Regions from separate parts of the Homo sapiens genome. Here all the other regions are linked to region 2. Evidence: promoter capture Hi-C in human tissues and cell types (Jung and others, 2019). All regions are on one chromosome and are shown on one strand. The core of a region is centred on a gene start or on the middle of the fragment in contact, and the rest is flanking DNA. Distances in the headings are between cores, read along the strand shown. Region 1 overlaps LSS (lanosterol synthase). Region 2 holds the start of PRMT2 (protein arginine methyltransferase 2). Region 3 overlaps MCM3AP (minichromosome maintenance complex component 3 associated protein). Region 4 overlaps MCM3AP (minichromosome maintenance complex component 3 associated protein).

The links. Contacts are between HindIII fragments. The study calls those that stand out against the background at their distance.
Region 1: a contact is called between a fragment that was not itself captured here and the fragment with the promoter of PRMT2 in region 2, in 2 of the 25 tissues and cell types used here (hippocampus and spleen).
Region 3: a contact is called between a fragment that was not itself captured here and the fragment with the promoter of PRMT2 in region 2, in 1 of the 25 tissues and cell types used here (dorsolateral prefrontal cortex).
Region 4: a fragment that was not itself captured here is called in contact with the fragment with the promoter of PRMT2 in region 2 in 1 of the 25 tissues and cell types used here (lymphoblastoid cells).

What each region holds. Positions count from the first base shown.
Region 1 is chr21:46,202,281-46,205,064 of GRCh38, reverse strand. The region is part of intron 17 of LSS (lanosterol synthase); the gene reads left to right. Among named protein-coding and RNA genes, the nearest start is that of SNORD159, 9.5 kb to the right of the region's middle. The HindIII fragment of the contact is 6,573 bases long and covers 1-2,784 here.
Region 2 is chr21:46,634,343-46,637,060 of GRCh38, reverse strand. It overlaps PRMT2 (protein arginine methyltransferase 2), which reads right to left and starts at 1,387. Exons shown (of 12, transcript NM_206962.4): 1 at 1,298-1,387; 2 at 514-622; 3 at 71-165. The coding sequence starts at 109. RefSeq lists silencers at 969-1,518, 1,629-1,848 and an enhancer at 1,619-2,289. The HindIII fragment of the contact is 3,678 bases long and covers 1-2,718 here.
Region 3 is chr21:46,271,578-46,274,277 of GRCh38, reverse strand. It overlaps MCM3AP (minichromosome maintenance complex component 3 associated protein), which reads left to right. Exons shown (of 28, transcript NM_003906.5): 7 at 693-890; 8 at 1,449-1,717. Among named protein-coding and RNA genes, the nearest start is that of MCM3AP, 13 kb to the left of the region's middle. The HindIII fragment of the contact is 8,173 bases long and covers 1-2,700 here.
Region 4 is chr21:46,249,714-46,252,544 of GRCh38, reverse strand. It overlaps MCM3AP (minichromosome maintenance complex component 3 associated protein), which reads left to right. Exons shown (of 28, transcript NM_003906.5): 20 at 863-1,016. It overlaps MCM3AP-AS1 (MCM3AP antisense RNA 1), which reads right to left. Exons shown (of 4, transcript NR_110565.1): 4 at 844-2,831. Among named protein-coding and RNA genes, the nearest start is that of MCM3AP-AS1, 22 kb to the right of the region's middle. The HindIII fragment of the contact is 8,485 bases long and covers 1-2,831 here.

The DNA of each region.
Region 1 (2,784 bases), core at 21-2,520, 430 kb after region 2:
GGGTACGTTATAGGGTATGTGATTTTTGTAGGTTCTTCTTTATCCTATCACGATTACATTTTTTTACTTTTGTTCAACCTGGTGTAGACTCACCTTGGTCACAATGCACTGTCCTTTTTATATATTGCTAGATTCAATTTGAAGAATATTTTGTTAGGATTTTAGCAACTCTGGTTACAAGAGACGCTGGTCTATAATTTTTTTTTCTTTATAATGTTTTTGTCAGGTTTTCCTGTTAAGATGATGCTGGACTTAGAAAAGCAGTTGGAAAATGCTTTTAAAATACTCTTTGGAAGAATTTATGTAATATTCATAATATTTCTGCCTTAAATGTTTGGGAAAAATTACCGGAAATGCCAGTTGGGCCTGGAGATTTCTTTGAGGAAAGTTTTTAAATTAGAAGTTCAATTTCTTTCTTTCTTTCTTTCTTTCTTTTTTTTTTGAGATGGGTTCTAGCTCTCTCACTCAGGCTGGAGTGCGGTGTAATTTCTTTAATAGTTTATAGGACTGAGCAGATTTTCCATTTTTGTATCAGTCTGGGGAGTCTTCCCATTTCCACTCAGCTTTACACTGATTCATGCAAAGTTGTTCAGTGTCCTCTTAGATGGCTCTGAGCCCAACGCTGACATCCTCCTCTTCCTTCTGAGAATCTTATACTGATCTTTTGAAAAAAAAAAAATCTTAGTCTTTGATTCTGTTTTTAAAGAGACTTTATTTTTGGTTTCATCAATTTCTATTGTTTGTTATTTTCTTTCTTTCTTAATTTTTTTGAGATGGAGTCTTGCTCTGTTGCTGAGGTTGGGGAGCAGTGGCGTGATCTCAGTTCACTGCAACCTCCGTTTCCGGGGTTCAAGCGATTCTCCTGCCTCAGCCTCCCGAGTAGCTGGGACTACAGGTGCTGACCACCATGACTGGCCAATTTTTTGGTATTTTTATTAGAGACAGGGTTTTACCATGTTGTCCAAGCTGGTCTTGAACTCCTGACCTCAGGTGATCCACCTTCCTTGGCCTCCCAGAGTGCTGGGATTACAGGTGTGAGCCACCACACTGGCCTTTGCTATTTTCTTTCTCCTTTATTTTTCTAACTTGAATACTTAGATATTTGATTTTCAGGCTTTTATTGAAATATGAATTTGAGGCTATAAATGAGTTTTGAGATATCATTCAGTTAAATGTGTGTTCTGGTGCTTGCTGTGGTAGCACAGATACTAAAAGTGTTTTCTGTTTCTACTGTTCTTCTCTGGCCCATGAGTTATGTGGGAGTATGCTGCTTCATTTACAATCTGAGAATGTTCTGGTGTGGTTTTTTTGGAAGCCGTGGATGGAGCAGGGGTTTTCTTGTGCTTCACAGGTGCAGCTAGGAGGGCACTGTGTCCAGGGTCTTCTGTCGGCCTGGCGTGGCCCTCGGCCATGTGCTGCTCTGCGGCATGAGGTGGGCGTGAGTTGTCCTCAGCCACATTTAGAGAATTGGCCTTTTAAAAAATAGATCATCTTTTAAAAATCACTGTAATAAAAGTAAAGCAGGTTCTTTGCAAACAAGACTTGCAAAATACAGAGAAGCGCAAAGAAGAAGCTAAGTCGCCCCTCCTCGCCCCTGAAGGAGAATCTGCTGTTGCTGTTTGGTCTCCACATTTCCATGGCGGCTTGCTGCCCCTTTCACGCCTGGCCCACTTTGTGCCTGGTGAGGTTTCTAAAAGCCCCACCATTGAGCGCGCTCCTCCAGCACGAGCAGTAATGGCACAGGTGTTGTGTCATTTTACTCAGTAGCCTCTGGGTTATTTTTCAGTTTTCCTTGTTGTTTTTTAGCTTTTCCCCATTTTAACCTTAACTGGTATTTTCTTGTTAAATATTTATTCATGACCATTATTATTCCCTAGAGCCACATGGCTTGGGGTCCACCTGCCTGGGTCAGCCCCCATCCCTGCCCCTTCTGGCTGTCTGACCTGGCCTGGTGACTTCTCTTCTCTGCTCATCTCTCTCCCTGCCTGAGTGGGCAACAGTACAGCCTCACAGAGTGGTGGGATTGTGTGAGATGCCACAGGGAAGCACATGTCAGTTGTTGTCACTGTGTAGAACAATGAGTCCCGGATGTGGCCCGCAGGGGAGCAATGGTGACTTAATCGCGGGCTTCCTCTGCATTTCTTTGGTGACTTCCAAGCTAGAACATTCTTTTTTTGTTTATTTGTTTGAAGCAGGGTCTCACTCTGTTACCTAGGCTGGAGTGCAGTAGCAAAATCATGGCTCACCACAGTCTCAAACTTCCGGGCTCAAGCAATCCTCCCACCTCAGCCTCCTGAGTAGCTGGGACTACAGGTGCATACCATCACCTGTGGCTAATTTTTTAAATGTTTTGTATTTTTTAAATGTTGCTCAGGCTGGTCTTGAACTGCTGGGCTCAAGCAATCCTCCCACCTCGGCCTCCCCAAATGCTGGGATTACAGAGTGAGCCACCACACCCAGCCATTTTTAAAATTTTCACCAGGAAGTTTTTTCTTTCATTTTTAAGCACAGTAAGTATTTGTGTATTATGTTACAGATATTTTCCCCTCAATTTCTTTGTTCTTTTTATCTCTTTAGGGAGTATGAACATAAGTTTTTAACTTTTAAATGGTTAAATATATTAGTGTGATTTTTATATTAAGATTTTATTTTATTTATTTTTTTTTTTTTTGAGACGGAGTCTCGCTCTGTCGCCCAGGCTGGAGTGCAGTGGCGGGATCTCGGCTCACTGCAAGCTCCGCCTCCCGGGTTCACGCCATTCTCCTGCCTCAGCCTCCCAAGTAG
Region 2 (2,718 bases), core at 138-2,637:
CTGACGCTTAGCTCTCTGTAATGCTCACATTCATTAAACACAGATTTTTAGGAAGTGGAACGGAAATTACCTGCGATTCACTTCTGGGACAGTCACCTGATGTTGCCATAGTTCTCTTAGGCTCTGCCTCATAACTGCTGATTTATTTCATTTTCTTTTCCATTTCTACTTTTAAAAAGAGAAGGAGACACAAAGTACTTGTTACATTGCTTAATAATTGAGTTCACTTAACTTCTAATGTGCATGATGTCCTCTACCAAATAGAAGTAAAATGTGTATGTGTGAAGATTAGTGTAGAAATGAAAATTTACAATACTTTACAGAGACAAAAGCATTTAAAAATCATAAACTTCAAATAGTGTGTTTTCTTCACTAGTCTGCAAGGTGTTAATCTTGTTCATTTGCTGAAGCCTGTTAGTTTCTGTTAGATCAGGTGTCGACTTAAGGCAATAAATCAGTATTCATTAATTTCTTAGAAGTGTGATAGCTTTAATTCCAATTAAAAGTCCCTACCTGGGACCTTACAGTGTTTCCACTAACAGGAACCAAGGTCTGCATCTTCCAGTCTTTTCCTTCTTCTCAATTCGTATTTTTCCAGTGATAGTGTAATCCACACACTGCTCTGGGATCAATGTGTTTTTAAAATTGCATAGCAATTCTTTGTTTAAAATGCATGCTTCACTTCTAAATCCAGACTTGAAGCTTATTTTTGTGATATTCGTAGTTACAAATGCTTACTGATTTGCATAATTATATTTTCATTGGAAGACCTGGGTCCAAACTGGGACGGGGTCGGAGTGGAGGCCGCAGTGCGCGCAGGACCCTGCCCTCCTAAGATGCCCTCGGGAGGAACAGGATCATGGAGGGTTGGAACAGGTGGCCAGTGAAGGGGGGTGAGAAGGGGGCAGGAAGCGAGAGGGCCACGCGTGGACGCAGGGGCACGAGAGGGTCAGGCTGGGACAGCGCCGCGAGCTTCGGGGCAGGGGCCGCCAGGCAGGTGGGCGTGGCCGCGAAGGGCGTGACAGAGATGGTGGTGGGGTGGGCGTGGCCGTAGAAGGCGCTGGACGGCGGGAGTGGCCGGGAAGGGGTGCGGCACGCAGGGAAGGGTGTGACGGGGACCGAGCTCCCGTTTGGACGCCAGGGAAAGTGGCTGAGATCGCGAAGGCGCTCGGAGGTCCCAAAAGGGGGCGGAGGCCTCTGTCCGCCAGCGACGCACACGCAGTGCGAGGACGCCTCACCTGGCCTGTCCTTCCTTACGTGCAGTCCAGCCATCTGAGCTGCCCATCAGGACACCTACCTCAATCGCGTTTCTCCGCTGAGTTCCGCGTCCACACCGCCAGCGCGGAGGGGTGGACGGTCCTTTCCAGGAGCCTGAGCCACCGCCCTCAACCCGCGCAAGCGCAGTGCACGCAGGCCGTCAGCCGGGAAGGCCCCGCCCAGGGCCCGGCGCCCCGCGCAGGCGCAGTCCTAAGACGTCCCCCATTCCAGGGAAGCCAAGCCACCGCCCTCGACTTGCGCCGGCGCGTCGCTCACAGATCGTCTGCAGCTGGGGCTGCGCCCCGCGCAGGCGCACTTCACATCTGCGCGTCCCGCGGTCTTGCGAGGCGAGGCCAGGTTCTCCATGTGTGGAGCTCGTCCCCAATCGCCCAGCCCAGCCGCGGGGTTGGGGGGCTCGGCTTGGGGTCCGACCCAGAGGGGCGCGGGGCAGGAGTCCGACCTGGGGCGGGGGGCGGGTTTGGGCCATTCACGGCTTGGGAAGCGACAACCCCTACGAGCCACAAAATGGCTGGGGCTTGGGGGACCCCCCACCTCCTCTGTCTTCCCGCAAATAATTCAGTTAACTTTCCCATCCGCGCTGCGCAGTGTGCGCCCTCTGCCTTTCTTCTGGATAAGTGGAAGCAGAATGATGACGTTTCTGTTGTGGGGAGAGGAAGTTTGGGGTTAAGGAGAAATGGGTGGCGCTAATGCCTGTAAAACATAAAATTCGAAGCCCCCCCTCCCCCGCAGCCGTCTGACTGGACTCCCTCCTTTACCAGGGGACCCTGAAGTTCAACCTGAGAGACTATTCTGGCCTCGAAGGGAAGTAAGAGTTGGACATGCCTTTTTACACTCCTCCAGCATTAACATCAAGGCAGACCTTAAGTCTGATTTAAAAAAAAAAATGTGGAAGGAAAATAAATTTGGGGGCCGCAAAATCATTAAGCTTAAAAGGAAAAGTCAAGTTGGGAACTGCTTAGGGCAAACCTGCCTCCCATTCTGTTCAAAGTCATCTCTCAGCTCACTGAGATAAATGCGTATCTGATTGCCACCTCTGGAGAGGCTAACCAGAAACTCAAGGGAATGCAATGATTTGTCTCATATTTACCTATGACCTGGAAGCTCCCTCCTGCCTTTGCTTTGAGTTGTCCCGCCCTTCCGGACCAAACCAATGTTCATCTTACATATATTGATTGATGTCTCATGTCTCCCTAAAACGTATAAAACCAAACTGTGCTCTGACCACCTTGGGCACATGTCATCAGGGCCTCCGACGGCCGTGTCATGGGCGTGCATCCTTAAATTCAGCAAAATAAACTTCCTAAGTTGACTGAGATCTGACTCAGATATTCAAGGTTCACATTTTGGTAACCACAAAGGGATTCTGAGTAGAGGTGCCACTGACCTTTGACAAATCTGTCAGTCCTTAGTACCAGCTTGAGCTATCTTTATGGCTCAAAC
Region 3 (2,700 bases), core at 134-2,633, 360 kb after region 2:
AAATTGTTGCCCCAGAAAGCTGCACCAATATAGATCCTTTTGGACTTTGTGAATTTTGCTTATGGGCTTCTCCTCTTCCTGGCTGGTGGCTTTATACACCCTTCGCCTGGTGCGGGGTCCCCAGCCCAGCAACTCGTGTCACTGTAGGGCCCCTGCCCCAGGAGAGGCACATGCCCAGGGCCTTGTCCTGTGTACATCTCTGCCTCTTCCCTTGGCCACGTCTTCAGCCTCCTTTTGAGGTGGGAGATGCAATTCCAGGCCCCAGGTGGGCAGCCAGCCCCTGATGCTGTGTCCTCAGCAGTCCTCACCGCCTGTCTCTGTTTCACTTCTGCTCTGTGTAGACTTAATCTGGTGTGTGAGCGGGCCTGAGACCTTTTAAGTGCTTGAGGCCCTTCCCTGTCCCGTCTCTCTGCTTTGGAGGCTAGCAGATGTGCCTTCACTTAACATTCCTCCTGTTTGTCATGACGCACTCATATCTTAACTCCTTGTCATATTTGCCAAAATCAAATTTCTCTATTTGTCTTTGAATTTTGATTGTCACCTTTTAACAGAAATTTTATGTTGAAAAAATATATTCTCAAATACTGATCTTGTGTGGGTGTGTATGTGATTTTCCCCCTCATTTTCAGGCATAACTATGCCTGGCCCAAGGTATGCCACATGGGCATCCTGTCTCGGCTTCATGTCTCTAGGTGGACCACGCAGCAGCTGTGAAAGAGTACAGTCGGTCCTCGGCGGATCAGGAGGAGCCCCTGCCCCACGAGCTGCGGCCCTTGCCAGTGCTCAGCAGGACCATGGACTACCTGGTGACCCAGATCATGGACCAGAAGGAGGGCAGCCTGCGGGATTGGTATGACTTCGTGTGGAACCGCACGCGTGGCATACGGAAGGTATTGGCTGCCTCCAACCTGGATGCTAAAAAATCCACGCAAATTCCAAAGTCAAACTGATATTTTTATTACTCTGTTATATATTTTATCTGTAACAAAAATGTACTTTTGTGGGCCAGGTGCAGTGGCTCAGGCCTGTAATCCCAGCACTCTGGGAGGCCGAGGTGGGTGGATCACCTGAGGTCAGGAGTTTGAGACCAGCCTGGCCAACATGGTTAAACCCCATCTCTACTGAAAATACAAAAATTAGCTTGGCGTGGTGGCACACGCCTGTAGTCCCAGCTACTCGAGCGGCTGAAGCAGAATTGCTTGAACCTGGGAGGCGGAGGTTGTGGTGAGCCAAGATGACACCACTGCACTCCAGCCTGGCTTCTGTCTCAAAAAAAAAAACAAACCCCAGGACTTTTATTTAAGTCACTACAAAGTCCTATTAAAATGTGCATCATGGGCTTTGTTTCAAATTGAAAAGTGAGAAATTGAGGTCGTAGCATGATCCTTCTCACGGTTGCCTCTTTGCATGGGAATGTGTGTGTGATCCTCCCCCTCGCCTGTGGCCAGGATATCACGCAGCAGCACCTCTGTGACCCCCTGACGGTGTCCCTGATTGAGAAGTGCACCCGGTTTCACATCCACTGTGCCCACTTCATGTGTGAGGAGCCCATGTCCTCCTTTGATGCCAAGATCAATAATGAGAACATGACCAAGTGCCTGCAGAGCCTGAAGGAGATGTACCAGGACCTGAGAAACAAGGGTGTCTTCTGTGCCAGCGAAGCGGAGTTCCAGGGCTACAATGTTCTGCTCAGTCTCAACAAGGGAGACATCCTAAGGTGAATTTTCACATCCAAAAGTTGTCCTAAGGTGGCTGAAAAGGCAGGCTTTAAACAGGAGAAGAGCTTTCAGGAGTGGCAGTAGCCAATAGTGCAGCATTCTGTCTGGTAGCAGATGTTGGGATGATAGTAGAGGACCTTGGTCTGGCTTTGCAGTCGGCTGAGCTGAGCTGGGGGAAGAGCGATGGGGGTGTGCCCTGGGACCAGCACATCTGACGTAGGCCCCACATGTTCATTTCTGAAAATAGTTTCTCCTCACCAGTGAGAAAATGAGGAAGGAATCCTCCTCATGAGACAGGTGAGTGAACCAGGAGAGGGAGTTCCAGGTGCCCTGCAAGGTTGTTAGCAGTTCCCTGTTCCCAGATAGTTTTGTCAAAGATCTCAGAATAAGAGAGGAAAAAATTATGTAAAACAAAAATGCGAAGAATGGGGTAGTGAGAATGAATGAATGTAAAACCCTGGTCTGATCCATAATTAGTCACTTACATGCGAAGTCTGGCGAGCTCTCTGGCCCTCTGCTTGTGGTGGACCCTCTGCTTGTGGTTAAGCTGGACTTATGGTGGACAGTGTCCCCTTTAGTTCTAAGAATCCCCTATCAATGGTGAACCTCTTTTTTTTTTCTTTGTATTTTCCTCAAGAACTGTGTGACAGAATATCTAGATGTGTGGTTGATTTTAATTTTTTATTTCATTTTATTTTTGAGACCGAGTCCTGCTCTGTTGCCCAGGCCGGAGTACAGTAGTGCGATCTTGGCTCACTGCAACCTCCACCTCCTGGGTTCAAGCGATTCTCTTGCCTCAGTCTCCTGAGTAGCTGGGATTACAGGCACATACCACCATGCCCGCCTCATTTTTTTGTATTTTTAGTAGAGACAGGGTTTCACCATGTTGGCCAGGCTTGTCCGGAACTCCTGACCTCAGGTGATCCACCTGCCTCGGCCTCCCAAAGTGCTGGGATTACAGTTAGAGTCTCCATGCCCGGCT
Region 4 (2,831 bases), core at 124-2,623, 380 kb after region 2:
GCTTAGTTTTGTATATATTTTGTAGAGACAGGGTTTTGTGATGTTGCCCAGGCTGGTCTCAAACTGGGCTCAAGCGATCCACCTGCCTTGGCCTCCCAAGGTGCTGGGATTACAGGCGTGAGCCACTACGCCCAGCTGGTGAGTCATTTCTTAAAATAGCTGTCTTCTCATTTGCTAAGTTCGTATGTCACTTAAGAATTCTTAAGGTCTCAGGTATGAGAAATTTGATCTGTAAAAAACATGTATTTCAAACTCTAGGGATGTTTTCTATTGCTGAAAATCTTAATGCTTCAGAATTTTAAGTCACATTAGAATGAGCCAGTTCCATTCTAATGGAATGGAGTGCCCCCTCCTCCTGCCCAATTAAGAACAAGTAGAAGCCGGGAGCAGTGGCTCATGCCTGTAATCCCAGCAACTGGGGAGGCTGTGGAGGGAGGATTGCTTGAGCCCAGGAGTTTGAGGCCAGCATGAGCAACATAGTGAGACCCTTTGAGTGACACTCTACAAAAAAAATGGAAAGATTAGCTGGGCATGGTGGCCCGTGCCTGTAGTCTCAGCTACTGAGGCAGGTTTGCTTGCTGCGGTGAGCCAAGTTTGTGCCATTGCACTCTAGCTTGGGCGACAGAGCGAGACCCTGGCTCAAAAAAAAAAAAAAAAAAAAAAGAACGAGTACAGATCGTTGCTCCATTTTAAAACAACAGCCTGTTTTGTGCAGATCAGCTTCATAGTAAGATGTGGTATTTGTGGACCTAGGTCTGTGTGATATTTTTCTTTCTTCTTTTCCTGAAAGTCTTTATAATTCAAATATAGAATTAGATTCTTCAAGTGTTTTTTTTGTTTTTTGTTTTTTTTAAATCTGTAGAATTCTAGCAAATTGGTTAAAAGTCAAGTTCATGGGAGATGAAGGCTCAGTGGATGACACATCCAGCGATGCTGGTGGGATTCAGACGCTTTCGCTTTTCAACTCACTTAGCAGCAAAGGGGATCAGATGATTTCTGTTAACGTGTGTATAAAGGTGAACTATAATTACTTTGTGTTTACTTCTGTGTTTTCATTACTTTCACTTACTCCCAGATATCACTGGAACCATGCAAATACTGCTTATTCCCTAATGTGGTTTTGAAAGACTGGGAGGCTCAGAAGCAAGTATTATGTCTGTCCGTACATGTCGTTTAAAAAATTTTTTTAAGCCAGTCAAATTGAGTAGTGGGCACCAAGCCCAGCCTGCTTCTTTACTTTTTCTGTTTTAATACTATATATTGGATTTCCTAAATGTAATATGTACACAAAACTTTTAAAAAATGAGGAAATGTAAAAGAAGTATAAAGATGATGATAAGAGCCATCCATGCTCTTGCCATTCTGAGGTAACAGTAACTTCTTGGTGCAAATTCTTCCCTTTTCCTGGGATTACAAAGTCACATTTCATCTACTGGAAATTAGTTTACTGCTGCTGTTACCTTCATTTTCATTTAAGAAAGTAACACTTCCGTGTACTTAAAAAGAAGTCAAATAATGCCACCCACGTGATTTAAAATGAGACATAGTAGCTCCTCCTTCCTCTCTTAACTCCTTTCTTCAGGGCTGCATTTTTCTCCTGTTTCCAGATCACACACTTACACAGCCATTTCTCAGTTTATCCATTTAAATGTTCTCTGCTGACTTCCCATTAATATAAATGTATTAGTTACCTTATTCCTAAATAACTAATTACTCCTAACATAGCAGCTTAAAATAATGTCTGTTATCATGGTATCTGTGGGTCAGGAATCCAGGTGTAGCTTAGCTTGGGTCTTCTGGCTCAAGGTTTCTCATGGGTGGAAATGAAAATGTTGGCTAGGATTGTGGCCTCATCTGAAAGCTTGACTGAAGGGTATCTACTTCCCAGCTCACTCTAGTGAGCTTGTGTCAGGATTCACTTCCTTGCAGGCTGTGGCCAAAGACTTCCTCAGTTCCTGCCACATGGGCCTCTCCCCAGCTGACAGCATGGCAGCTGGCTTTCATCAGAGTGAGCAAGAGGTGAGCCTAGATGGAAGTCTGAGTGTGTTTATAACCTAAACTTAGAAGTGACATCCTGTTGCTTTTGTTGGCTTCTGTCTGTCAGAAGTGAGTGGCTAGGCCCAGCTCACGGGGCAGGAGATCACACGTGGGCATGAACACTAGGTGGAATCAGGGGGGTCCTCTTGGCCACTGCATACCATACTAGGTACAGCGTGGCCTCTTGTGCCATGGTCCTTGCTCGGCCTTCCACGTCTTCCCGGGATAGCTACACTAGCACTTTGTATTACTTCAGTGAGTGGGGTCATATTTTGATGGCTCTGTGACTGCTATTCACCTCAGAACCAGTAGTGTTCTATAACCACAATTATTTTTTTCCTGCAAGAAATAGAGTTGCCTTATTGTCTCACTTAATGTAGTTCTCTTTATCTCTTTAATTTTACTGGGGGGCCGTATATATCTCGGTAGAGTTTTCCAAATGTTCTGTCACTTCACTTGATCCATCCATGTTCCCTCTGTCCTGGAACTCTCATCTGTGGGCTGGTCTCCATCCAGGCAACATGTGCCTTAGTGCCATCATTGTGAGCATATGTGTCCCTGCTCCTCCACTTGGAAGCTCTGTGACCTTGGGCAAGTTCCCTAGCGTCTCTGCCACCTGTGTATGGGTACTGTTACTTATTATCCCTATTTTACTCAGAGACGGTAAAATAAACTGCCCAAGCCTCTGCAGGTGCTGTCTGGTGGAGATGCTCATCTGGCTCTTGAGGATAAAATGAGTGCAAACACAGACTGCACAGGACAGTGCCTGGCACAGGCCAGGTGCTTGCTCAGTG